Linked DNA regions of Homo sapiens: regions 1, 2 and 3 are each linked to region 4. The links are contacts of gene promoters, found by promoter capture Hi-C in blood cells and fetal thymus (Javierre and others, 2016). All regions are on one chromosome and are shown on one strand. Each heading gives the region's core, a stretch centred on a gene start or on the middle of the fragment in contact. The rest is flanking DNA. Distances are from core to core; before and after follow the strand shown.

What was found. The method cuts DNA at HindIII sites, captures the fragments that hold promoters and counts their contacts. A CHiCAGO score of 5 or more calls a contact.
Region 1: a fragment that was not itself captured here is called in contact with the fragment with the promoter of TTI2 in region 4 in 1 of 17 cell types (M0 macrophages); the score reaches 5.2 in M0 macrophages.
Region 2: a fragment that was not itself captured here is called in contact with the fragment with the promoter of TTI2 in region 4 in 1 of 17 cell types (M0 macrophages); the score reaches 5.2 in M0 macrophages.
Region 3: a fragment that was not itself captured here is called in contact with the fragment with the promoter of TTI2 in region 4 in 4 of 17 cell types (monocytes, M0 macrophages, M1 macrophages and 1 more); the score reaches 8.8 in monocytes.

The regions. Positions count from the first base shown.
Region 1 is chr8:32,597,776-32,605,302 of GRCh38, reverse strand. The region is part of intron 2 of NRG1 (neuregulin 1); the gene reads right to left. Among named protein-coding and RNA genes, the nearest start is that of NRG1, 53 kb to the right of the region's middle. The HindIII fragment of the contact is 1,582 bases long and covers 4,022-5,603 here.
Region 2 is chr8:32,616,912-32,623,512 of GRCh38, reverse strand. All of the region lies in intron 5 of NRG1 (neuregulin 1), which reads right to left. Among named protein-coding and RNA genes, the nearest start is that of NRG1, 72 kb to the right of the region's middle. The HindIII fragment of the contact is 152 bases long and covers 4,940-5,091 here.
Region 3 is chr8:32,581,835-32,588,887 of GRCh38, reverse strand. All of the region lies in intron 1 of NRG1 (neuregulin 1), which reads right to left. Among named protein-coding and RNA genes, the nearest start is that of NRG1, 37 kb to the right of the region's middle. The HindIII fragment of the contact is 1,327 bases long and covers 4,143-5,469 here.
Region 4 is chr8:33,510,352-33,517,578 of GRCh38, reverse strand. It overlaps TTI2 (TELO2 interacting protein 2), which reads left to right and starts at 4,444. Exons shown (of 8, transcript NM_001102401.4): 1 at 4,444-4,497; 2 at 4,867-5,612. The coding sequence starts at 4,966. It overlaps SNORD13 (small nucleolar RNA, C/D box 13), which reads right to left and starts at 4,104; the gene lies at 4,001-4,104. RefSeq lists enhancers at 2,463-2,752, 4,273-4,412 and a silencer at 3,793-3,842. The HindIII fragment of the contact is 19,476 bases long and covers 1-7,227 here.

The sequences.
Region 1 (7,527 bases), core at 3,563-6,062, 910 kb after region 4:
GTTTTTCTTTTTACTCCCTTACCATCACCAATAACTGTGTTATACTTTAGATTTTTAAACCCAATTGGTAAATTTTCTTACTTTTCTATATCCAAATGCCATCAGCCACTAGGGTTTAGGAAGAGAAAAATGTATAAAATCATTTCCTACAAGTCTGTTAAGGACACTTACTGAAGGTTAGAATAGATTTTAAAAATACTGTGCACTCTTCTTCTCAGTAGAGTAACATCAAGAATAATGTTAATTTTGAATTAAGAGGATTTATCAATTCCAAAAGGAAGGGAATTTTTCTTTCCTTAAGATTCTCATTGCTGGGAGCATAGTACCACATGAAAGGTTCTTAATACTGGAATAAATATTTGGGCAACATTATCACATAGTTTTATAAAACTCTGAATATTACATCAACATTCACTTTTTTTTTTTAACATGGGCAGCATTGTGATTTGCTGTGTCTGTGTTTTACTGTTGCACATAACCTATAATTTAAGCAGTCTCCAAGATATAAGAACTCAGAACAGCAGGGATTGGCTCAGAGTTTACTGAATTCTTTCTAAAGAATTATTCTAAAGCCTGGTGTGGTGGCATGCCCCTGGAATCCCAGCTACTTGGGAGGCTGACATGAGAGAATCACTTGGGCCCAAGAATTCAAGGCTGTAGTGTGCCATGATCATGCTGGTGAAGAGTCACTGCACTCCAGTCTGGGCAGCAGGGTGAGACCCCTATCTCCAAAAAATAATAGCAATCCTTCTATGCTCTAGCCTGGTAACTGTGATTTATTGGGCTCTTAAGGGGATAACGACAAGGGAGAAAACAAAGGAGGAAGAAACAACAGTAATCCTTCTGGTTGCAAATCTCCCACGTTATACTTTGCTAGTTTTCTGGTGAATTTTCTGGTCTTCTTGTCACACATTAATGTTAACTGAGAAAAATCAATTGTTCCAAATATAATTCCTACTAGTATCCTCCAGTCTATCCGATTGAACCACCCAAAGTTCCACATGTAGACCCCCTGATCTTCCACCTCTGTGCTTTTGTCTGTGTCATTTTTTCTTCCTACAATGGGGGTCCTGCATTCCTATGCATCAAAATCTCAGCTGACCTTCCAGGGCCATGTCAGGTGCCAACTGCTTCACCAAGCCCCTCCTGGTCATGTAGCTGGAGCTGCTCTCACGTGTCTAAATTCTGACAGCCCTGAGTACGCCTCTCATGAGAGTTCCTTCAGTATGTCTCATCTCTTGACCTAGGACATATACTTTGGAGAGTGTAGCTATAATGTCAACTTCTTGCTAGTCTCGTGGAGCATACATCAGGCTATGCTTTCTCTTCAGACATTATTGAATAAATGTGTGAATGAATGAATAAAATATCTGGATGTTTGCTTAAGTACTCAGCAGAACCTAATATTTCTAAGGCTGGTTGGGAGGAAAGAAAAATGCCATAATGAGAGGGCAAAGACCATCAGAGGTGGTCCAGACCAGGGGCAGTGGTGGTCAAACCAACATAGGGGTTGAAAAGTTAACTTCACGGCTGGGAGCAGTGGCTCACGCCTGTAATCCCAGCACTTTGGGAGGCCGAGGAAGACAGATCACGAGGTCAGGAGTTCAAGACAAGCCTGGCCAAAATAGTGAAACCCTGTCGCTACTAAAAATACAAAAATTAGCCAGGTGTGTGGCATGAGCCTGTAGTCTCAGCTGCTCAGGAGACTAAGGCGGGAGAATCATTTGAATCCGGGAGGCAGAGGTTGCAGTGAGCCGAGACCACACCATTGCACTCCAGCCTGGGTGACAGAGTGAGACTTGGTCAAAGAAAAAGAAAAAGAAAAGTTAACTGCGCTAGTCGGGACTCGATGTCAACAGGTAAACATGAGGTAACAAAGCAATGTGTTCCACATTCAAATAAATTTGGAAAATATTAGGTGAAATAAAGACAGGCTTTTCATTATCTTTAATCTCACAGGATTTCTCAGCATCTTGAATATGCTGTTGTACTCTGACTCCCCGAAAAGGGATATATTATTTATTTTCTCTCAAACTCCTTTGACCATGGAATCCTTTTCATTCACAAGGCATATCTGTTAATGTTTTCTGAAAATAATGGTCCACGGAACAAAGTTGACAAAAAGTGGATGTAATTTAACAGCCTTATCTATCTAGGAATGGGGAGACCACCAAGGGCCATTTAAAGAATATTCACACATCAACCAGAGACATTATTCATAGGAAAGCTTCCCTGAAGTATATCCCTATAAGCCAAAATGGGCCTTTTGATGACAAGTATCTTTGCAAATAGATATGTCTTAACAATAAAATATGACAACTTTTAAAATTATCGAAATAAAACAATATTAGAATATCACCCAATGCAGGCTGTATTAATTTTGGGGCTGAATTTTGGAGCGTTCAAATACCGTATGATTTTTTAAATGGATTATCAGCTATATATCTACTTTGATCATATATGACAAGTTTCCTTCATGACAGGTACCTTTGAAAAATAGTGAGGAAAAAAATGGATAAGCACTGTAAGATTTTCCAGCCCAACATTTAGCATGGTTTGCTGGAAGAATTTTCATGTATAACCATGAAACCACTAGCAATAATAGATAAATTATGAACAATATCAGGGTGGGGCATAGTATCTTGATTTTCAATGCCACAGAAGGAGTAAATTTCTAAAGTAAGAAAACTGTAGCTTTTCTTAAGTCCCCAAATTCTGAGATAAGATTACAACAACATCCCAAGAATTTACAACTCCAAGATTATTACAACACCCTCAAGAACAACCTTTCTTTCCTATTTATACAAATCTAGGAACAATCGTGTTTGTATGTAAAGACCCCTTTCTTGACCCAATGCAATTAACATTTTAACTATTGAACTAGATGGAACTATAAGAAAACATGGTAATCATATTTACAGTTAACATAATCTTAAAGGGATAAGTCTTAAAATCAAACTTCTCCTAATAGGCCTTGGCACTGTTTCCTGGAATACTATTCCTAGTAATGCAATCAAATGTTAGGCTTTAAAAGAAAGAGAGATTTAAAAAAAATGGTTCTATGCTAAAATAAATGTTGCATTAAAAAAAGTTAAATAGGTCTCTTTACAACAATGCATCTCAGTGAATTTTTGCAAATCTGTACTGTGAATTTCTAAGGCAGCCATGACATGTGGCCATGGAATCTTTTCTATGGAGAACACCCTTGGGAATCCTAAGACAGAACATCAATGGGCCAAGACTAAGATTCAATTTGATCGAGATAAGCATCACAAGTACATTCACGTACGAAAACTGGTGACATAAATACAAGAGGAGATATCCCTTGACTACAATATATGCAGAAATAAGGATTTCTAATTAGCCACATGCTTATTATTAACCCATTTTTAAAACTATTTTTAAGAAGAAAGAATAACAAAAAAAACCTTATGTACTCTTTAGCCAAATTAATATTAAAGCAGAGCATCAATCAACTTGGATAAAAGCCCCAATACATTCCTCATCGGCTAGATCATATCTAGAATGCTGAATTATACTTTGGATATACTTTGGAATGATATTTGATGATAAAAAAACATAATTAAAGGACTTTAGAAGAGGGTGATCAGAATTGAATAGGGCCTAGAAATCTTATCACTAGAGAGGATTATGTTAAAGAAACAGAGGTCCCACTGGCAGACAACTATGAATGAAATATGAGTAGCTATTTAAATATATTTCCAGGATGCATATGGAAAAGGAAATTATTTGGGATTGCTAAGTCTTACAGGAAAACTAAGTCTTACAGGAAAAAGGAAACATGTTTTGAATGATATTACATAGAAGCACTTTTCTGAGCATTCAAAAATGTATAGGGTGTCTTGTGAAAGAGTTAGGTTTTCTCTTTGGAAAGATTCAAGTCTGGATAGCCACCTGCCAAGCACATTCCTACAAGAATATCTCTGTGCAGAGAAAGATTAAATTAGATCAGTGGTTTCAACTATTTTTTACAACAAAATCCTGTTTTAAAATGAAAGCTTAAATCAGAACCTCATATTCAAAAATATCACACAGAAAGTGTTCCAGGTCAGAGTGACTGGTAATCCTTTTTGCAATTCAATAGAAATTTAGGACTCTACAGAGACATCATTGGAAAACCACTGACCTCAAGGAGCATAAACATCCCTCTGAATTCTAATGATACATTTAACTATGGGATTCATCCAGCCTTGTGTCCTAGAGTAAGGACAGAATGTAGTAAGAGTGTAGAATGAGCCAAATCTTCCTTGAAAATTATATATTGCAAAAAGATTTGGGGCTTTGATAAGTATGGATACAACAGTCTTCTTTTTTTCTTTTCTGTAAGATACCATACTCTGTCTATAAGAAGGAAATTAGCTTGGAAAGACTACTTGATTCCCTTATAGTCATAAATTTAACTTTTTGCTCTTTAATTGATGAGTTTTCTAGGGATCTGGAGGAAGGTTGGTGTTTCAATGGATTTTTATTTTCTAAAAATATTAAATGAGTTAATTCGTGTAAAGTGTTTAAAATAATTTTTTCAATATAGTAACTTCCCAATAAGTGTTAGCTATTATTATAGTAATTACATTCTATATTCCTGAAATATTTGGATTTTCATAATAAGCATGCATTACTTTTAGAATAAGAAAAAACAGTACAGTGTAAAAATAAATTAATGTGAAGTGATTTGAAGATAAAAAGTTCTGAATATTAATTTCCTTTTCATTTTTTTAATATCAGAAAGCACACTGTGTTTTTTACTGTGTGCTCACTTACAAGGTGAATTCAAGGTTCCATTAGCTATTATTTAGTTTAGTTTTATTTTAACTCGATTATTCTACCATAGTTACAGGCTAAGGCAACTTAAACACATATAGGGAAGAACTCTTCTGTTTATACAGTTTTGGTTCCCTGACCCCTAAGGAATTATATAGACAGTGTTTGTGTGTGTGTGTGTGTGTGTGTGTGTGTCCAACACTGCTTCAGATAGTGTAAAACTGATCATCGTGAAAAGGACAAAGAAGTGAAAGAGGAAATTATGATTTTTTTTTAAGTATAGAGACGGGGTCTTGCTATGTTTCCCAGGCTGGTCTTGAACTCCTGCGCTCAAGAGATCCTCAGTAGCAGGGACTGCAGGTACACACCACTGTGCTTGGCTAAAAGAGAGGCTTCTTAAGCAACAGAACCAGTCACTGTACCAAGTGCCTCACATAAACCATATGGAATGCCACTGAGGATTCTCATTTTCTACATAAGAACATTGAGATTTCATTATATATAAAGTTCAAGTGATCTGCCAGAGTTGCTCAGCTAATATGAGAAAAGAAATGCACATAAACTTTTTCCATTATAAAGTCAAAAAAAGCAACCAGTAAAAATAGAGGAAATAATTGTAATATTTGTCCAATGTAACCAATGACAGCCAATTTTAAACAAAATTAAAATATGTAAGAGCTGAGGCAAAATTAATGGTGTCCAAAAGTGTGTGAAACATACAAATAATAGGAAGCCAGTCTTTAATAAAGCTAAGATAGAACAGGTATTTAAATGAGGTCAATCTGCCAGTCCTTACATATGAATCTGTCACACGCCAAGCTTTTTAACCAGTTTTCTTGATCAAAATCATCCACCAATCAAAGAAAACAAGAACAAAGACATAAGCAGACATATAACATGAGGGTAGTTTCCATTTCTTTTCATTGGCCCCACACATGGGTTAGCCAAATAAACAAAGGCTCAATGGGAATTCAAAAATCATACAAAGAACACGTAGGAATGTAGTTTTTAGTAGGACCGTGGGCAAAACAAGGGTAAGATTTTACAAAATAATAGAAATTGCATATTGCTGTGAAATTGTGCCACTAAACACCAAGAGATTAAAAGGATATGTTGGCTGCTATGCATAATCTGATTATAAGAAGTGTGAAAAAGAAGCCAAGACTAAGGATTGGGAAAGAGTCAAAGTATTTAATTAAAGAGAATCCCAGAAAAATCTTACACCTCAAACTAAACTTCACCTCTGCTTGGTTGATCATAGCCTAAGAAAAAGTTTAAGTCAAGTAACCAACTAACAACTGCAAAACACTAATAGTCTGAATATCTTAGTAATTAAAAATCATTAATAGTAATATATAAATGCATCTGAAAAATAAGAATCTTTTAATTAAAGACATTATCCTAAGCATGCCAGAGCCCTATGTTCTGACTTCTAACTTTATGTAGCATAATCACAAATGTCTGTTGAAAAAACACAAGACTTAGAGTCAGACCTATTTCAAATCTAAGTTTAACAATTCATTACCACTATGATCTACAGGAAGAAACTCAGCTTCCTTCATTTTCAGGATATTAATGTTTTAAATGGGTATAACAATAATTATATTCCTTCTACTTATATTTACTGGATAAATTGAAATAATAGAACACCTTGCAAATGTTAATTAAATTGAGATTCAGTTGGAACCTTTAATCTTAAAAAAGCTGACAATGCTCTTCTTTATAAAAAGACACAATTTTAGAAATGACAAAATACCCAATTCTAAAAACTGATAAGATGATCGCTTCTCAAGTAGCTGTCCACTCTATACAAAGTATGTCTTATTTTTAGATCAAATATGTTAACTGCTTTGCTGCGAGTGATTTATGGTTGCATCACTTCAATACATTTTTCCCCATTTAATTCTTTCCAGCAAGACTATTGTTTAAAAGAAGTAATTTCTAACTATTGCCCTTTCTGGTATAATGGGATTTTATTAATATGTAGACAGTGCTCTTAGCTGTCTGGACCTATGAAGCCAATATGAAAATGCTTTTCTGAATACTAATGATACTTTTATATGTCATTGAAGCCAGGTAACAAATTACCTCTTTAAGTATACATGTACCTTTTCTAAAGCCTATTCATTCTAGTCAGTTCACTTTTTTAAAAAAATTCATTTTCTCATCTTATCTACCGAACTTCATTTGCTTCTCTCCAGGTAGCATCAGATTGAATATCTGCAATGTGAGATGCTTTCTTCTAGATGAAATTCTCCTCCCTCCCTTCCTCCTCCCCTGCTCTAACAGTGTTTCAATACATAACTTCCAAAATTTCCCATGTTTCATATAAGACTGAACTAGATAATCTCTGTACAATCTTATGACCCCCGCCCCTGGGCACAGAGATTGTAATGCCCTATACCTCTTTAATTTCTCCACAGTCCTAGCATAAAACCTTTCATGGGCACTTAAATATTACTGGTATCCTTTGACAGCCACGTAGAAATAAATGAGACATTACCCTGCATGTAGAGATAACTTCATTCCTTACTAACTTGTCTGATGAAAAGCAAACACCAAAATCCATTCCATCCAAAATCTAGGAGTATTTTTTTGTCCTGTTAAACTTCTTTGTAAGAATCATACTTATCTTTTCAATTCATTCATTGTATTTCCTCCTCCCCTCATGCACATATGCTGTTAAACATGAGACTTAGAGTCAGACCTATTTCAAATCTAACTTGAACCATTAATTACCACTAT
Region 2 (6,601 bases), core at 3,766-6,265, 890 kb after region 4:
TTCTCCACAGTGGGCAGAGCCACCAACCCATGAAAAATGCCATGTTTATAGAAATCTGAAAACACAATTTGCATTCAATTAAAAGTAGCTCTCCAACAGTGGCAGGAGAGGTTCACATGTTATGACCAATAAACATCTGAAATTGAAATGGCATTTTTCCAGCTAAGAATCATTTAGCTAAGCTCCCAGAAGTTTTTTTCTACCATAAAAGCAGGTAAGTCAGTTACAACTGAGGGTAGAATGTAAGAGCCATGGGTCTAAATTCCACCAATGGACCACCCAGATCTGGTCCAATCTAATCAATACATATTAGTGTGCTATTCCCAAGTGAAACCATTCTATCTCATTATGACAGAAATGTCTCTGCAAAGACATTCTTTTCCTTCAGCTAGCTTTTTTAGGTGCCAAATTAAAAACTGAATTGTTCATTTCATTCAGAGATTTCATAGAAGACTTCCTGGATTAGTTCCTGTAAAATGAAGCCTTAGCTGAGAATATATAATATTTTGAAAAGACATAGTGATTTCCTGGCAAAGAACTGTCAGCATCATCACTTAGGCTAAAATCATAAACTCGTTTCCTTCTCCAACAATAAGGGCATTTTCCAACGTTGTTGAAGTAAGATGTAGAGACTCTCTGACTTTTATTCTCTTTTTAGAGCCATGTCACTTTTCCACACACTAGCTCTCTTCCATACATGAAGGGACCATCTTAAAGCAAAGTTGTGCTAAATGATATACATGCATTTTCTCACATTAGACTTCCCAATATATGTTTAAAATAAATAGCATTCTTCAGACCTAGAAACTGAATCTCGGGGCCAGGCATGGTGGCTTATGCCTGCAATTCCAACGCTTTGGTAGGCTGAGATGGGTGAATCACTTGAGCCCAGGAGTTCAATAGCAGTGTGGGGAACATGGCGAAACCCTGTCTCTAAAAAACATTACTCAGGTGTGGTGGCACACGCATGTAGTCCCAGCTACTAGGGAGGCTGAGGAAGGAAGATGGCTTGAGCCCAGGAGGTCAAGGCTGCAGTGAGCCATGAGTGCACTACTGCACTCCAGCCTGGGTGACAGAGAGAAACCCTGTCAAAAGAAGAAAAGAAAAGAACAGAACAGAAAAGAAGAGGAGAGGAGAGGAGAGATGAAACTGAGTCTCAGGGAAGTCACATAATTTGTTTAAAATTATACGGTAATTAGCAGCACCAGAATTTATTTCTTTTATTATTTTTGAGACAGGGTCTCTGTTGCCCAGGCTGGAGTGTAGTAGTGAGATCATGACTTACTGAAACCTCAATCTCCTGGGCTCAAATGATCAATTTGCTCAAGCAATCCTCCCACTATGGCCTCCCAAAGTGCTAGGATTACAAGCATGAGCCACCGCGATTGTCCTCAGCATTAGTATTTAGACTTAAGAGCATGAGTCCACTCAGCATTTGTGCTCTTCCCATTTCATTCACCTGCCATGCTTTGACGTGTAACATGAAGATCACTTGGGTACAACTGGCCCCAGACAAGTCATTTACTTGAATCCACCACATATACTCCCAATAAACTTGGTGCCAAAGGCTACCTTTCAATCCACTCACAGAATCCCATTTCTTTCAATAGTAAGGGCTTTTTCTTTGAGGCAGCAAAACGTTATGTGACATAGCAGTCCACTGCATTATCTGGGGTTAAATGCTGCTGTGTGACTTTGGACAACATGTATCAGTTTCAACGTACAGTGTAATAAGTTTTCATGATAACCATGAGTCATCATCCATGTAAAACATCTAGCACAACACCTGGCACACAGTAAGCCTTCAATAAATGCTTGCTGTTATTCATATTTGAAACAGATATTACCACTTCAACTGTTTTCCCGGGATTTATCTTGATTTTCTTTCCTATTACTATTTGTTAGATTTTCCGTTTTGTTTTCCTCATTTATGTATTAAATTGGAATGGATGGTGCTTAATTCAGCAAAGTGGTTGGTATAACAATTTTTTATGGTATTCAACAGAATTGTCTGCAAAATGGGGCTACCAGCAGCTGGCATCTCCAGAAGAAGTCATTAAGGCTTGTTCCAAACAATCACTTTACTTCTGCTGATTCTATAAAAGGAGCAGCAAGATAGTCCTATTGACTGTTTTGTAAGGTTCAAGTTCTTCTCCTAAAACTTGTCACTTACATGTAATAGAAAACTCATTTAGGCAATTATTTATAAGTTTTTAGTCACAGATGCCTCATTTACAAAAAACAAAAGAAAATAAAGAAAATTATAATTTTGATCTTTATTAGATTAGTATAAAGAACTTAAAAATATAATTAACAACTCTAAACTAGTGAATGAACAATGGAAGTTTCCAATTTCCAAAAATTGAGTAGTAAAAATTGTCTTACAAAGGGAAGGACTAAGAACTTTGATATTTCACTAATATTTACAAGTGGTAGGAAAAATAAACAGAAAGGGGGCAAAACCGATAATGTGTTTGTAAATGAAAAAATCCCTTAAAAACCTCCAGTCAAGAATGATTTCTTTATTGTTACAGTGACCTATAAAATATATTTCTGATTACTATTTAAAAACATGAGAAAAATGCTTATAATATATTAAGTAGGTAGAAGGGTAGGTGAGTGACTTCTATTTTCTTCTTTTTGTTTTTTTCTTTTTCTTTCTTTCTTTTTTTGTTTGTTTTTATTTTAAGAGAGACAAGTTCTCGCTCTGTTGCCCAGGCTGGAGTGCAGTGGTTCAACCATAACTTAGGACAGCCTCAAACTCCCGGGCTCAGGTGATCCTCCCACCTCAGCCTCCCAAGTAGCTGAGACTTCAGGGCTGCCACCAAGCCTGGCTAATTTCTTTATTTTTTTATAGAGATGAGGTCTCAATGTGTTGCCCAGACTAGTCTCGAACTCCTGGTGTCAAGCTATCCTCCCTCTTTGGCCTCTCAAAGTGCTAGGATTACAGGCATGAGCCACCATGCCTGCTCTTTTTTTTTTTTTTTTTTTCTTCTAATCCAACATGAGTTAAAGAGGAAAAAAGGGAACTTTGGGGGCTGTGAAGTCAGATCCATCTCCTCTGCCTATATCTGTTTGCTCTGAAAGCCTCCCCTGTCTTACACTGACCCCCAAATCGCAGAGAACTGTTTAATACATAAAATGTTTGCTGAATCCATACTACTTCAGAGAGGCTTTTCAACATTTACTTTAGAAAACACCAATGTCATTAGTTCAAAGAATGTAGCCGGTACAGGCACAATCACATTAGAAAAGCAGAGTTCGCTTTTCAAATACAGGGATTTACTAGCATCTCCTTGCTGGCTAAAATAAAGTGAAAAGAAATCTATTCTTTGAAGCTGATTATTTTTGACCAGGCAAACTTTTCTGAGGCCTTTGACTTTTTTATATATTTGGCATTTTTGAGTTTGGCTTATTGTTATTGCTGACTCTTCAAGGTTCACCTTCAGCCTTTACTAAATGGAGATATTTGTACCTCACAGTCGTTCCCTGCAATGCAAGTCCTGCGTGTGGCTGCCTTGAAATGGACTGTGTGCTTCATGCTATTTTCATTATTGTAACTAAGACTGGACCTGGTTCCTGCCACGACTGGTTTATATTTTCAAACTGAAGAGCATATTTTCATGAGATTAAAAAATGTAATAAACCTGCCAATGTACCCGCTGAATCTAAAATTTTAAAAAACACACTAGGATTAGTAAAACATGCATATTGTAATTATAAAAAAACAAGTAAAACAATAGTTAATATGAAGAAGTATAATGAAAAAGCCAAAGAAGAAAATCAAATGGAACACCAAAAGTTAAAAACCAAAAACAAAAGCAGCCTTGGTTTTACCTATGGCTTTTCTCTTTCTCTAACACCTCACAATGAATTGGTTAGGGAATCTTGCTGGCTTGACTTTCAAACTATTACAGACTGACTTTTTTGCCACCTCTACTGCTACCAGCCTGGGCCAGGCCACTATGCTCTCAGCAAAAGCCACCTAACTGGGATCCTGGATTCTACCCTTCCTCCCAGTGAGCCATTCTTCACACAGGAGCCAGAGTGATTCCATTAAATACCAATGTCCTGACAATGGCCTACAAGGCACTACATGCTCAGACCCCAGGGTCTGTGGCCCTCATCTTCTATATTTCATCCCTTTGTTCCTTCTACTCCAACCCCACAGGGCTCCTTATGGTCCCCTACACGGCACATGAGCCATGCTTTTGTCTAAGGGCCTTTGTACAGCCTGTTCTTTGCCTAAATACAGTTTCCCCAGATGTTTTTTTGTTTGTTTGTTTGATTGTTTTTCTTGAAACAGAGTCTCCCTCTGTCACCCAGGCTGGAGTGCAGTGGCACAATCACAGCTCACTGCAGCCTCAACCTCCTGAGTTCAAGTGATCCTCCCACCTCAGCCTCCCAAGAAGGTGGGACTACAAGTGCATGCCACCAAGTCCAGCTAAGTTTTCAATTTTCTGTAGAGCTGAGGTCTGACTAATGTTACCCAGACTGGCCTCAAACTCTTGGGCTCAAGCAATCTTCCCGCCTTGGCCTCCCAAAATGCTAGGATTATAGGCATGAGCGACCATGCCCAGCCAGTTTCCCTAGATGTTTGCAAAGTTAACCCTTCACTTCTTTCCACTTTTTGTCCAAATATCAACAATTTAATGAGACTTACCTTGATCAACCTAATAAAAATCACAAGTTTCAACTCTCCTTATCCCCTCCCCTCCTCTACTGTTTCTCATTTTTGGACTACGTAGCACCTTCTAATATATCGTGTTACTAGTTTATTATATTCATTGTTTATATTCTCCTAATAAAATTAAGTTCCACAAAAAAATGTGTTCATGAATCAATTCAACCATATTTACTGAGAACTTACCATGACCCCGGGTGACTGATGTGTGAAAATGGCACATTGAAATATTTTAATATCATGGTACACAAAGCTTCCTTTCTTAGTTTTAAACCATTGCCAAATATCAAAAACTAATTCTACTGAGAATTAGGGAATGGAGTCAGATTTCATAATTATTTCTCTCTCAGTGATAATGCAATGAATAGAAACATAAACTGAGAGATTTATTTCAGTTCCCCAAAGCTTGGGAAAACCAAAAGTATTTTTTTACATTCTCAAACTGCTCAGATATGCTTAAGGATAGTATCTATGGTCCCATTGATGATAGCATGAAGGGTTCCAATTACAAGAGTTTCAATAACTTTATTCAATGAATCACACAGGAGAGAAATTATTTCCAGACAAAATGCCAAAAAAGAAAAACCTAGTATTTGCTTCTGCAGAATAAACACTTAAAAAAAAAAAGCTCAATGTGATTCCTGGATGCTAGCTACATAAAATCCATATAATTATACTAATCTTTTTATAAGTAGAATTAAAAAACAAATAGCACAAATTCCCCGGCAGAAATTATCATTTTGGAGGATATGATGAGAGCCCTTGGAACACATAGGAAACTAATTTGGCCCTTTCTAGCATTTCATTTCCTGTTTGATCTCACCAGGCTATTGCCATCAATCCAGTTAAATGACGCTTTATGTAGTTAAAATATAGCCAAAACACCATACTTCACACAATAAAAGATAATTTTATACCATATAGTTACAGTTCTAGTATCACCAACCTGGAGGGAAAGGCTGTAACATCAAACAGGATTTATTTAAACAGATTGACAAAACAACTTAAATTGCCAAAAGGACAGACTTTCTTTTCATGAGTTTTCCTACCCTGCTGATAGCAAAAGGAAATTGTTCCTTCAACACACTCCCCAGATCGAAATAGAATAACTAGGAACATCTATTTATTGAAGAGCTTATCAAATTGAGAAATGCTTTAAATAAGGAGCTAACATAAGGAAGAGAAAGACTGTAGTTATAAGTTTAATTTTCAAGGTTTGATAAACTCCCCTGTTGAGTATCAAAATTTAATACGATGATATTCTCAATTTATAAGTATCAAAAACTCTTTATACTAGTCCTTGCTAATATTTTAAGTTCCCCCGACATAGCACAAAACCCCAATCAATCTAACAGTTATAGAAGTCCACAAGCACAAAGCCCATTTCACATTAAATAGACGAAAACTAATCTGAGATCTTGCCTAGGGGCTTGCTTTCAAACATTTTCATAATCAGTTACTTGCTATCAAATTTGAATTAAGGGCATCTATATATAGTTTTCTTACTCCATCACAGCTAACTTTATATGAGAATGAAGAAGTTTTGGAACGGAAGCTCCAAACAGCTGGGTATCATGCCTCAGGCAGTTGCTGAAGGCATCCAGAGAAGCTGAAAAGACACACAATGTGCTCTACTGCTTGCCAGGAATTAGGCCTCAGAACTTGTGCAATTATTTTTCAATATTCAAAGCCACCAGATTACCCTAAAACTGATACATTTGTGGTGTATTTTAATATTCTTATGTATATTGGGAGGACAGGATGTCTAGTTGTCCTTAAGCATATTAGGAGGCCATTTCTACTCCAAACAGCAAATACCACCTATTGCCAAACTCAATACTCTGACCCTTAATAGGGGCAGAAGATAGACGTGAACATGACCTTCCAAAGCAGATAGTGCCTTGGGTTAAAAACCAG
Region 3 (7,053 bases), core at 3,557-6,056, 930 kb after region 4:
GCTGCTATTTGTCCCTGACTACTGAGGAAGGAGGATGGCACCTTCATTTGAAATAAAAGTTGCCATAAAATTCAGTATTTTGTTATAATATATTCTCAAGCTGACTCTCTTTACCACTGGCAGCAAACTAAATCCAACCAGCAAACACACTGGGAATAGGCTTCAAAGTAGGGTTAAGATGGCTGGACTCTGGAAATTCCATTCTAGCAGTTCCATGTCCAGCTCCTTATGTAATCCAACGATGTGTATATGAACTACTGAATAATTTCTTTGCAAGCACATAACATGCATAGAACGTTTCATTATACAACATAAAAGAATAAAATTGGGGGCAGTATTTCAGCATTTTATGCTAACACTCATCACAGTGGTGCCACTACAGCCAGAGTTGGCTTCTTACTAGTGCTTCATTTTGATTTCCCAAACATATTGGTTTCCTTTGGTGGGGGATTTTACATACGGATGTCCTCCAAGTTTCACTTCTCACAATTAACTGCTACACGATGACTGAAACAGTATGATTCTTTAAGATATTTGATTTGAGGGTATGAGCCACAATCAGCTCAGTTAAATAGAATGCTTATGCTAAGGCCATTGAAGATGATTAATCAGATTCTCCATCTGAAAACCATACTCAACTGACTGCACTTAAAAAACATGTAGAGGGCTGGGCGCTGGTGGCTCATACCTGCAATCCCAGCTCTTTGGGAGGCCGAGGCAGATGGATCACTTGAGATCAAGAGTTCAAGGCCAGCCTGACCAACATGGTGAAACGCCATCTCTACTAAAAATACAAAAATTAGCCAAGCATTGTGGCACACATCTGTAATCCCAGTTACTAGGGAGGCCGAGGCACGAGAATCATTTGAACTGGGGAGGCAGAGATTGCAGTGGGCACACCACTGCACTCCAGCCTGGGTGACAGGGCAAGAGTCCGTCTCAAAAAACAAAACAAAACAAAACAAAACAAAACAAAAAAACCCACATGTACAAACAGAGGGCCATTCAAGGAATTTATCCCTACGAAATCAAACAAGGGTCAGCAAGTTAATAGCAGGGGGTCACAGTCTCTATTTGGAGGGTTAGGCTATTTCCTGACTGTGTATGTGTCCATTTGGATTGATACTATACCTAAACATCAAAATTTCTGAATTTATTGAATGGAAGATATACAGGATCTCAGGCTCTCCTAACCCAAAGTAGGACTTCAAGTGTCTGCTGAAAGGATGAGGAAGAATCTGGAAGATGCTGACAAAGAAGAAACCCAGGTACAAAATGATTCCAGAGGCCCCATCTATCTTCTCTATGACTTTTTATTATTTGGAATCGTGAGGCCCTGTGACATTGTTTGTGTTCTGCATGCCACTGGGCTAGGACTCTTATGCCGCTCTGCCATCAGACACTAACAAAAATGACATGTAAATCTAACTGGAAAATTGTCAAGTAAGTCGTATTATCTTTACTTTGAAGTTTTCATGTTCTGTATTTCTCTTATCTGGCCATCACTGTTGGAGGACTCTCAAACTGGACCCTGCCTCAGCCGAGACCCTGGTCATGTTCCTTGCTAGCTCATTTATTTCACCTAATTTCAGAGTCTACCCAGAGTGGTCAGACGGTTCTTGTATTATTGCAAGAAAAGCACATTACCTTCTCTGCTTTAATTTTTTTTTTTTGGCGGCAGAGTCTCACTCTGTCACCCAGGCTAGAATGCAGTGGTGTTATGTGATCACAGCTTACTGCAGCCTCAGAATCTTAAGCTCAAGTGATCCTCCTGCCTTAGCCTCTCACATAGCTGGGACCACAGGCACAGGCACACACCACCACGCTGGGCTTTTTGTTTTGTTGTATACAGAGATTCATGTTGCCCAGGCTGGTCTCAAACACTTCAAGCAATCCTCTTCAAGGAATCCTCTTGCTCTAGCCTCCCAAAGTGCTGGGATTATAAGTGTCAGCCACCATACCTCCTATGCCCTCAAGTCAAAGTTGCTCTTCTCCATTGATTGACCATGGTCTACAAGATGCTGGTTTGCTCCCTTAACTGTTAATGTGCCTTGTTGTCACTACATATCCGCAAAATTACTATTTGGTCAAATCTCCTTTCATCTGCAACAGTTCTGGTGTGTATTTCATGTAAGGTACCTAATGATTGTTTCCATTTACAGGTGAGGAGATGGAAACTGATAGGGGAACTTAATGTCGTAAGTCTAACAAGTTGCAGAACCAAAACTTAAACCTAGGACTTTTTACCATACCTAGTTTTTCTACAAAGTTTGAAGTGGAGGCAGAAAATGGAGAGAAGGACAGTAGATTAAAAATCTGGGAAAGATCACTCCATTTCATAGCCACTACAGTAAATTTTTTGTTCTTATAATGAGCTATGTAAACCAAATCACCTCTCCACATTTGTCTGTGAGAAATTTACAATACTGTAAAATTCTACAAGGGAAAATGAATGCAGGTTTATTAGGTGAGATAATTTTTCACCCTGATAATTGAAATTAGTTATTTATTGAAATTAGCAATCTCTCTTTTCTATACAGTTCCTTGCCCTGTACTTCACAGTTAGGGACTAAAGATAAAAATCTTAAAACAACTATAATGTATTTCCAAAGCCTATGAGATGAAGTTAAATAAAGTCCTTTTTATTTACAGTATATTTATATATAGTATATATAGTAGAATGTAATGTATACATATACACATTATATATATATATATATATATATATAGTACTTTCAACAATAAACACCTTTGAATAATAATAGCTGATACTTGAGTACCTACTATGTGCCAGGCATTGTTCTAAGAGCTTTATGCTCATTAACGTTTTTAAGTTTTATGATAACTCCAGGAGATATGTATTACTGCCATTATCACCAACTTACAGATGAAGAAACAGAAACAGAGAGGTAAAGTAACCTGTCTATAGTCACACGGCTGGTATACTATCAAGTCAGTATCTGAACCCAGGAAGTTTGACTCCAGAGCCCTGGCTCTTAACTACCAGACAATGTGCTAAAGATTTTATTTAATGATCTATCAATAGGGTCCATATTTTCCTCACAAAACCTGGGATACACCACATGACATTATTTCTGCACTTATTCCACGTGCAAAAGACAGTCTGAGAAATACAGTAGATATGCAAAATTGCTGAATTTTCTGAGCTACTTGGATAATTGATGGGGAAATAAAACAAGGCAATACTTGCGATTGGTGTTAAAATAATTCTTTTGAACTATGCAGCTGTCTATCTGTCATATGCCAAATGCCACAAGGGTGAACAGTGCTGTATCTCACTCCTGTGTTCACTGCGATGTGATAACCCCCACGTGAGGATACAGCAACAAAAGTGGCTTAATGGATTAATGTTGTTCTTTCGAGGTGTAAAGGCAATACACCGTGACAATGAATGCTGGAGCAAATCACTGCGCCGCGGCCAGCAGCTGGAAGGTAAGTGTTCAGCAGGCCTGCCTAATTGATTCTGTCACCACAGCTGCCCCTAATTATAAGAACATCTCACTCTCGGACATAAAGATGTCCAGCAAGCTTCACTGAAAGCAATCAACTCACAGGGTTAAAATGGATCCAGTACAGTTTTACCTAATTGATGTGTAGCAAAGTTCACATGACATAAGCTTATAAATATGATTTTTTCCATTGTCATAAAACAGGATTTTTTTCTTATGCATTATACATACCAGCCATATTCACTTCCAAAATGTTAAACAGAAAAACTGAGAAACATCTAGTTACTAAAAATTAAAAATATATTTACTTATTTTCTTATTGTCAAGTTTTTTTCTGTTCTGATGTGTTTATTGCTTAGGTAAAGTTAGCACATTAACATGATTTTGATATGTTAATATTTGTCTTTATAACCATTTCTTCTTTGCTCAAGTTGAATTACATTTAATTCATGCCACTAAAATTCTCTTTTTTATTTAAAGAAATTTACTTACATGTTCTAAACTAAATAAATTCCCAGGTAAGATGAGTTAGCAATTGATTATAATTAGTTTTAAACAATGATAACTATGTGAAAACTTTTAAGCAGTGCATATAAATGAACAAAGTCCCTGATTCATGATCTAAGAACATTAGTTCCCTATAATCTATTTTTCACATAGCCATTTAAAGCTTATTCCTTCTGTGAAAAAGAAAAATTTTAGCAGAGCTAATTCTGAAACAAATGTGTCCTTTCAGGACTTCTAAAATCTGTTTCTTTGTTATTTAGTCAGATCTCCTTTCTTAGTAATTATGGCTTTCTGATTTTTTCATTTTTGTCCACAGATGACTTATTAAAGAGAATGATACTAAAACCTTAGTACCTGCCAGGATTGAAAGCCTTCTTTACTCGTTGAGGCCTACAATATCAAAGTTAAATTTCTCTCTTCTCTGTTCACTACAGTTTTAAGTAAGCAACGCTGCATCCCTTCTTCAGCAGGGTCCACATTTGACTTTCTAAGGACCTTTAAAACCTCCTTGCACTCTTAAGCAGGTCCATGGACAACCTAACGATTGAATTCTTATCATTTTACTTCTACCCCACAGGAAGATCAGGGAAGGCAAATTCCTTATCTTAGGGTTCCCAGTGACATGAATTTGCTGAAGAGGTGGAAAATAACCAAAATCAAATTAAACAGATTGTTGACAGTAAGAAACCTGGTGCTACATTATTCTGTGACTACATTCTGTGGCCACTATAACTACAAGGCTGCTGCACTTTCCCGTACTGTCCTCCAAAGTCAAACCGTATGATGGAAGTCAGTGCCCTTTGGTCTCATAAAACACACAAAAAGAAATCCCAATAAGAAAGAGTCCAAATAGTCTCCCCTATTTTACAAAAAGCATAAATTCCTTAAAGAATCTTTTGAAAGTGAAAGTGAGCTGCTTCCCACACATTCTGACACAACCCACTGACTCCCAGAATGTAATACAATTTTCTCAGCACAAAGACTCAAACATGTTACACGAAAGAAGTCAAAATGAAGCTCACTTAGCATGTCAACATATCGTTTTCCTTACCCTACTATTAGCTACACTGGAGACCTTACTTGGATTGCACCAACTTGTGTACAGCTTTTTTCGTGCTGAACAATGAGATCATGTATGAAAGTACTTTGTAAACAGTAGGCTAAATAGTGGTAGTCTAAGAAATGCCTTCTGGGTGAGCCCAGGGTAGGGCATTGATGGTGAAATTTGCATTATCTGAAGGGAGCTTTAAACAATTTAACCATGAGCTCTCTAGATTTTAATTTCCTTTAATAACATGATCAGTACCAACCATGAATTTAATTAATTCCCCATGAATCCCTAAAGACACTGGCACTCTACTAGAAGTATCTTTTGTTTTGTTTGTTTTTACTTAGAAAGAAGGTTAATTAGATTCTTTGTTAATAGTTTATAAGTCCATGAATTTAAATTACTGAACTCTACACATAACATCTTGAGCTTTTGCCACAAGCTTGATAGACCCTATCAAAAAGAATGGAGACAGGAAACTTAGGTAAAGTACTTGTTTGGTCTGCAGGATGAAGCAGTCACAAAATTACTCTGAATCTCAATCATCTTGAGCAGAAAAAGGAGGGGAAATAGCACCTGCCACACCTATTTCAATACAGTTGTAAAAACCTAATTAAAAAGAGCAATAAAAGCATTTTGCATATTTTAAAAATTAATATTATTAACTCTGATTTAACCACCACCATCTATAAATATCTAAGAAAAAGCCAGAAAATGTTAGGTTATATAAATCTAGATGGCACGAAATTACATGACAAATATCTGAAAAACTACATATACTTTTGGTCATTCTTGAGAGACAAAAAGAAAAAAAAAGTAGCTGGAAACTATCAAGAAAAGTTACCGAAATGCTCAAAGGAAAGGGCAGCCAATATAAAGGAATACACTAAACATTATAGAATCATACAGACTGACACCAGGAAGGCCAGGAAGAAAGTAACTGTTCTTTAAAGTCATGAAATCTTAGAAAGAGCAAAAGCATTTTTTGAGAATTTGCAGAATACTGCAGTTCTCAGAAAACCTTGAAGCATGAAATACATAGTCTTTGAATAAAAAAGGAAGTGAAGTTTTGCACAATACAAAATATAATTTGGAAAATGCTTATTCAGCGGGGCTATACAGGAAAATGACTCAGGAGACAACACAAAGGAGAAAACTTGGGCTTTGAAGTCAGGTTGGCTCAGGTTCTGATTCCAGTTTTCCCACCTAAAGTCTCATGGCTTGGCCAAGTCCATCTATTACCTAGGTGAACTTCATCCTCATCTGCAAGGTAAGTTTACCTTCCACAGGATGGAGTGAGAGAATCAAAGAACTGTATCCCATACTTTGAATAGGATACTGTCACACACACAATAAGCATCAATAACCGCTCATTTTATTTTAATAGCAAACTCATAAGGAATTAATTAAATTCATGGGTGGAACTGATCATGTTATTAAAGGAAACTAAAATATAGAGAGCTCAGGCTGGGCGCCGTGTCTCACGCCTGTAATCCCAGCCCTTTGGGAGGCTGAGGTAGGCAGATCACTTGAGCCCAGGAGTTTGAGACCAGCCTGGGCAACATGGTAAAACATCATCTTTACAAAAAATACAAAAATTACCCAGGTGTGGTGGCATGTGCCTATGGTCCCAGCTACTCCGGAGGCTGAGATGGGCAGAGCACTTGAGCCCAGGAGGTTTAGGCTTCAGTGAACTGAAACCATGCCACTGCACTCCAGTCTGGGTGACAGAGCAAGACCCTGTCTCAAAAATAAATAAAACAAAACAAAATAAAATAAAATAAAATAAAATAGAGTTCATGGTTAGATTATTTAAAGCTCCCTTCAGAGAATGCAACTTTCACCCTCAGTGACCTACCCTGGGCTCACCAGATGGCACTTCTTAGACTACCACTATTTAGCCTACTGTTTACAAAGCACTTTCATACACAATTTCCCTTTAGCACAAAAGGCTGTAAGATGGTTCAATCCAAGTAAGGTCTGCAGTTTAGCTAATAGTATTGTACCAATGTTAATTTCTTAGTTTTG
Region 4 (7,227 bases), core at 3,195-5,694:
GCACCACTGCACTCCAGCTTGGGCGAAAGAGGGAGACTCTGTCTCAAAAAACAAATAAACAAACCCAAAAGAAACACACCTAAACAATATTAATATTACCAACAGTATACCATTATTAAATGCAGTTGATTTTTTTCTGATTTTAGGCTTTGTCACACTAAGGATATAGAGTCAAATTAATGAGTTTTACAGTTAATTTGTGTGGTTATGCCAGTGACTCAATGTACTCTTTATTTCTTTTCTTTTAGGAAATGCTTTGTTATTTTCTTTTAAAAAAATAGTTATGTAGGCTCTTGAGCTGCTTGCTTTGGCCCACTCTTGCCCTGAGGAGTATACTTTCATTTTCAATACGTCTCTGCTTTTGTTGCTTCAAAAAAAAATAAAAATTATGTGGCCGGGTGCGGTGGCTCATGCCTGTAATCCCAGCAATTTGGGAGGCCGAGGCAGGTGGATCACGTGAGGTCATGAGCTGCAGACCAGCCTGGCCAACATGGTAAAACCCCATCTCTACCAAAAATACAAAAATCAGGCGTGTGTGGTGGCAGGCGCCTGTAATCCCAGCTACTTGGGAGGCTAAGGCAGGAGAATCACTTGAACCCGGGGTGGCAGAGGCTGCAGTGAGCCGAGATCGCACAACTGCACTCCAGCCTGGACTGGAGTGAGGCTCTATCTCAACAACAACAAAAAAATTTACATGAATCCAAAGTTGAAGCTATTAAACACAGTGTATACAGAGAAATCTAGCTTCCATTCCTATTTCCTTCACCCCGTTCTTTTCTTACCTATAACCATTTTTCTTAGTTTATAATTTACACTCTATTGCATCTTTAACATGTAAGCAAATGCACACATCATTATTTCTATTTTCCCATCTTTCTTACAAGAAAGGCAGCATTTCAACACGTGTGAAAAGGGGGAAAAATAAAAATAAAGGCAACATACACATGGTCTCTGTCCTGCTTTTTTCACTTAACAATACATCCTAGATTTCCAAGGCAGTCCACAGAGATGGTTCTCTTTCCTCTGTGCAGCGGCATAAAACTGCATTGTGTGGATATACATAGTTTATTCAGCCAGTCCTCTGTGGATGGATGTGTGGGTTCAACAAACATTTATTGCATGACCAAATTGTGCCAGGCACTGGGAATAAAGACGTGGTCTCTGGCTTCAGGAAACTCAGAAGTGCAGATGGGGAGATCTCCACAATACAAGTGCTTTCCTTATAAGAAGTAATAGCTTGGGTCCACTTAGCACAAGGGGCACATGGAACAGGGAAGAGACGCTTGCACACAGGAGGGACACAATAACTGTCTATTTATTGGCATCTTGCTTCCACTTGGGCCTGCAAACAGGAGAGTCCCCTCGGGAGGAGATGGTTACCAGTGGTTGAAATTGCTTAAAAAATCATGAGTGCCACCAATTGGTCAGAGAAGGGAAAGCTGAATGAAAGAGGCCGAGAGGGAGGGTCCTAACCACAAAATTACCCTGGAAAGAGGAAATGTAACAACACAGGAGCTGTGGTTTAACATGAGCCAACACCTATGTAGAACTTTCTGCTGACCAGATATTGTTCTAAGCAGTTTACATATAATTCCTTTCTCACAACACTCCTAAGTGGTACGAATTATTACTACCTGCATTTTTCCGATAAAGAAATTAAGGTGGCTGGGCGAGGTGGCTCACGCCTGTAATCACAGCACTTTGGGAAGCCAAGGCAGGTGGATAACTTGAGGTCAAGATTTAGAGACCAGCCTGGCCAACATGGTGAAACTCCGTGTCTGGTAAAAATACAAAATTAGCTGGGCGTGGTGGGTGCCTGTAATCCCAGTTACTCGAGAGGCTGAGGCATGAGAATCGCTTGAACCTGGGAGGCAGAGGTTGCTATAAGCCAAGATCACACCACTGCACTCCAGCCTGGGCGACAGGGAGACAAGAAAGAAAAGAAAGAAGGAAGAAGGAAGAAGGAAGAAGGAAGGAAGGAAGGAAGGAAGGAAGGAAGGAAGGAAGGAAGGAAGGAAGGAAGGAAGGAAAAATAAAAGAAAAAGAAAAAAAAAATTAAGGCACCAGCGAGGTGGGTGGTTCACACCTGTAATCTAAGCGCTTTAGGAGGCCAAGGAGGGAGGATCGCGAGGCCAGGAGCTCGAGATTAGCCTGGGTAATACAGCGAGACCCCATTTCTACAAAAAAATTAGAAAATATTAGTAGGGTGTGGTAGGGCGCGCCTGTGGTCCCAGTTACTGGGAGACTGAGGCGGGAGGATCGCTTGAACCCAGGAGTTTGAAGCTGCAGTGAGATACGATGACGCCACTGCACTCCTGCCTGGGCCACGGAGCAAGACCCTGTCTCTAAAAAAATATTTTTTAATTAAATAAAAAATAAAAAGAAATGAAGGCACAGAGAGGCTACCGAACTTTTGCCCAAGGTCAGACAGCAAAATGGAAAGAAGGGCAGGCGAGTAGGCAGCAAGACACCGCAGATGGGACAGTTGCAAGTAGTGCACCAAGAAGCTGGTGCGCTCCCCAAGGTGGGACGAAAATACTGTATGTCCCTCTACCCCATAACCACCTCCTCGCGAGGACAAAGGACACCTGACACGTCACCCCTCCCTCGCCCCTGCGCGCACACACGCCCCTCACCCTACCCCAGGTCAGAAGACCCCGAAGGGCTTTCTCTGGACTCCTGGAACCCTGGAGGCGCAATTGACGCCTTAGAGGCTGAATAAGAGTCCCTCTCCGAGCAGCTGGCGACACGTCTCTCTCGCGCCACCCCTCCCAGGGTCCGAAGCTCCCGCCTGTGCAGTGGCACAAATGAAGTTTGCCTCCTCGGGCTCCTGCGAAACCGTGGAAGCTATGAGAGTCACAAGGTCCTAAATGGAAGCAGCTCCTCGGGAACTGAAGGCCAATCGGACGCAATTCTACCCTCCAGGAAAGCGCAGGAAGAGGGAACAAGCAATGCCGACGCGGCGTGGGGGACCCAACACAGGGCGGTCGCACAGGCGCGACCCTTCTCGCGCCTTCTCAAAACCCAAGCAAACACCACTGGTTCCTACACCCGCCGAGCCCGAGTCTGCAGCCTCCAGCTCCCCTGGCCCGTTCCGGGCGCCGCCTGCGACCCATGCCCAAGACAGCGCTCTGCTGTCCCTGCGCACCCGGCGCCGACACTGGCGGGGCGGGCCCAAGCCGGATCCGCCAACCCGACGACCCACCTCCCTCAGGGCTGCCCCAGACGCCAGCTGGGGGCTTCTACCTTGACGCTAGAATTTGAATTTTCAAACGCTTGTGGCTACAGGCTTTAAAACGCTAGCTCCAGAAACCAGCTAAAGTATTGCATTGAACAGAAAACCAAATACCGCATGCTCTCATTCATAAGTGGGAGCTAAACATTAGGAACACGTGGACATAAAAGTGGCAACAACAGACACTGTGGTCTACTAGAGGGGGCAATGAAAACGGGCTAAGCTGCACTCCAAATCCCAGCATCCCACAACATATCCAGGTAACAAACCTGCGCAGGTATCTCCCAAACCTAAAAAATTAAAGCCATTAAAAAGCTCTGCATTGGCCAGGCGCGGTGGCTCACGCCTGTAATCCCAGCCCTTTGGGAGGCCGAGGCGGGCGCATCACGAGGTCAAGAGATCGAGACCATCCTTGCCAATATTTATACAAAAATTAGCTGGGCGTGGTGGCGCGCGCCTATAGTCCCAGCTACTCGGGAGGCTGAGGTAGGACAATCTCTCGAAAACCGGAGGTGGGGGTTGCAGTGAGCCGAGATCGCAACACTGCAACTCCAGCCTGGCGACAACGCGAGACTCCGACTCACAAAAGAACAAACACAAAAACACATTACACAGTTGGACAACGGAAAAGCACCCGTGCGTGTAGCATACAGCCAGAAAAAAGGGCACCCGAAAACGGTAAACACAAAGCCATGAAACTAGGCCACCTGTTATCATAAGTAACAAGCCCACAAATACAAGTGTTAAATCGATCCTTGAAGTTCAGGTCAGACGGGTAATGTGCCCACGTCGTAACAAGGTTCAAGGGTGGCACATCTCACACAAGCGTATGAACACCCAATCATCACGCTCATGAACTACAAAAGGATCATCTTATAGTTGACATTAAGGAGTGCCAAGTATGTGCCACTAATTTACACATAGGGTGACTACCGTAATGCGATACATCCATTCTTCACGTATAAAATCCTGGATATTTTCAAAGTCCCACTGAGATTCTGTGATTATTCTTTTGTTTCTACCTTAGCAAAGGAAAACAGAAACACAATTAGCGAGCGGATTATTATATATGCAAATTTATTCTCTATAGTTCCACCTCTCCGTCATTTTCCCGAGCCTGGATCTTTATTGCTTTACGACCATACGTCGTGAAATAAGAAGGTGTTGCGGCAGTACTGGCGGAAGCTAGCCTTGCGTTTTGCGGCAGCAATATGAGCTAGGTCCGGATCCTGTTAGACACCGGCGGGCGCGAGCCGTTGCAGGTACCTGGGGGTGGTTAAGTTGGTGACATGGCTCAGAAGTTTATTTCTTTAAATTTTTAAGTTTTTTTTCTTTTTAGTCTTCAGAAAGGCAACAGTAGTCTTTTAACGTCACTGTTAAAAGTGTAAGACTCTTTTACTCCCTGAGAGTCCCCTTTCCCTTTCTTGCGTCCTTTCCTCTTTATTCTTTTTTTTTTTTTTTTTTTTACTGAGACGGAGTCTCACTCTGTCGCCCAGGCTGGAGTGCAGTGGCGCGATCTCGGCTCACTGCAAACTCCGCCTCCCGGGTTCACCCTTTCTCTTTATTCTTATCCCGGTCAGACTCGCCCCCTCCTCCAAGACATCTCTCTGTTTTATTTTATTTGATTTTAGTTCTCTTTGGGTGATCGCTCCTTCCCTCTTCAACGGATCCCTCCCCGCCTCCATCCTCGTTCTGTGGGAGAGACCAGCCTTCTGGTGCTGCAGTCAGGAATGGAGCTTGACAGCGCTCTGGAAGCCCCATCGCAGGAAGACTCTAATTTGTCCGAGGAGTTGTCTCACTCCGCCTTTGGACAGGCCTTCTCCAAGATTTTACACTGTCTTGCCCGCCCGGAGGCACGACGAGGCAATGTAAAAGATGCAGTTCTTAAAGACCTCGGTGATCTAATAGAAGCCACAGAATTTGATAGGTTATTTGAGGGGACTGGTGCACGGCTCCGCGGAATGCCGGAGACACTGGGGCAGGTAGCAAAAGCCCTGGAGAAGTATGCAGCCCCCTCCAAGGAGGAGGAAGGTGGAGGTGATGGGCACTCCGAAGCGGCCGAGAAAGCAGCCCAAGTTGGGTTACTGTTTCTTAAACTGTTAGGGAAAGTTGAGACTGCTAAGAATTCCCTGGTCGGCCCTGCATGGCAGACGGGCCTGCATCACTTGGCAGGACCCGTTTATATTTTTGCCATCACACACAGCTTGGAGCAACCATGGACCACTCCGAGATCTCGGGAAGTTGCTAGGGAGGTGCTCACCTCACTGCTTCAAGTTACTGAATGCGGTTCTGTGGCAGGATTCCTACATGGAGAAAATGAAGATGAGAAAGGGAGACTTTCGGTGATACTAGGGCTTCTCAAACCCGACTTGTATAAGTGAGTACTCCTGCCCTTTGCCACCGACTTGAGCCTCACAGTTTTTTATTTTTATTTTTTATTATTTATTTATTTTCGAGACAGAGTTTCACTCTTGTTGCCCAGGGTGGAGTGCAATGTTGCGATCTCAGCTCACTGCAACCTCCGCCTCCTGGGTTCAAGCGATTCTCCTGTGTCAGCCTTCGGAGTAGCTGGGATTACAGTTGCCCGTCACCACGCCTGGCTGATTTTTTGTATTTTTAGTAGAGACGGGGTTTCACCATGTTGGCCAGGCTGGTCTTGAACTCTTGACCTCAAGTGATCCACCCGCCTCGGGCTCCCAAAATGCTGGGATTACAGGCGTGAGCCACTGCGCCTGCCCTAGCTTAATTTTTTATAGCGTTATACCTCAAAGGAAGCTCAATTTCTTCAGCAGTAAAATAAGGGTGCTGTAACCACGGATCTCTTAAGGCCCAGAAACGTTGTGATTTGCTATAAATGACATAACTGGATAGTGGCAAATTGGAGGTCATAACTGAGATGTTCGGGCTCAGTTGTCCAATGCTCTTTCCAGCCCTTAGGACGACTGCCTAGGAAAATTGGAAATTCTGTCCCACTTACTTGGAGTTAATAATTACAAAATGTGGCCGGGCGAGGTGGCTCACTCCTGTAGTCCCAGCACTTTGGGAGGCCGAGGCGGGTGGATCACTTAAGGTCAGGAGTTCGAGACCAGCCTGGCCAACATTGTGAAACCCCATCTCTACTAAAAATACAAAAATTAGCTGGGCATGGTGGTGGACGCCTGTAATCCAAACTACTCGGGAGGCTGAGGCAGTAGAATCGCTTGAAACCAGGAGGCAGAGATTGCAGTGAGCTGAGATCGGGCCACTGCACTCCAATCTGGGCAACAGAGCAAGACATCGTCTCAAAAAAAATTACAAATTACTAGAATTTGGATGGGGGATTTAGAGAGGATTTAAACTTATGGTTTGAATTTAGACTTGGGGATCTTGAATCTCATTACTGCTTGTTAGAGAAGGATGACTATCAGCTAAGAAAGCCATGTTTAGGATAAAAAGTGAAAAGCACCTTTAGATTACTGTTAGCTGAAGTTCTTTCAATGAGTTTCCACTTGCTACTTTGTTAGCACTGGAGTAATGAGAGAAAAAGTATCTGTAACTGTCATTTTACCAGGAACACGGAATTAAAAGGCTTGATTTTGAGTTTCGTGCTTCTATTTGTTGCTCTGAGTAGGACCAGATTAGACAGTTATCTGAATCTGTTTGTTTCTAATATAAAGATAATATACTTGGCGGAGTGTGGTGGCTGACACCTGTAATCCCAGTACTTTGGGAGGCCAAGGCTGTCAGATCACTTGAGGCCAGGAATTCAGGACCAGCCTGGGCAACATGGTGAAACCCCGTCTCTACTACAAATATAAAAATTATCCGGGTATGGTGGTGCAAGTGTGTAATCCCATCTACTCGGGAGGCTGAAGCAGGAGAATCGCTTGAGCCTGGGAGGCGGAGGTTGCAGTGAACCCAGATGGTGCCACTGCACTCCAGCCTGGGCAATAGAGTGAGACTCTATTTCAAAATAAATATAATGTACCTATTACACAGTAATTATTTTGAGA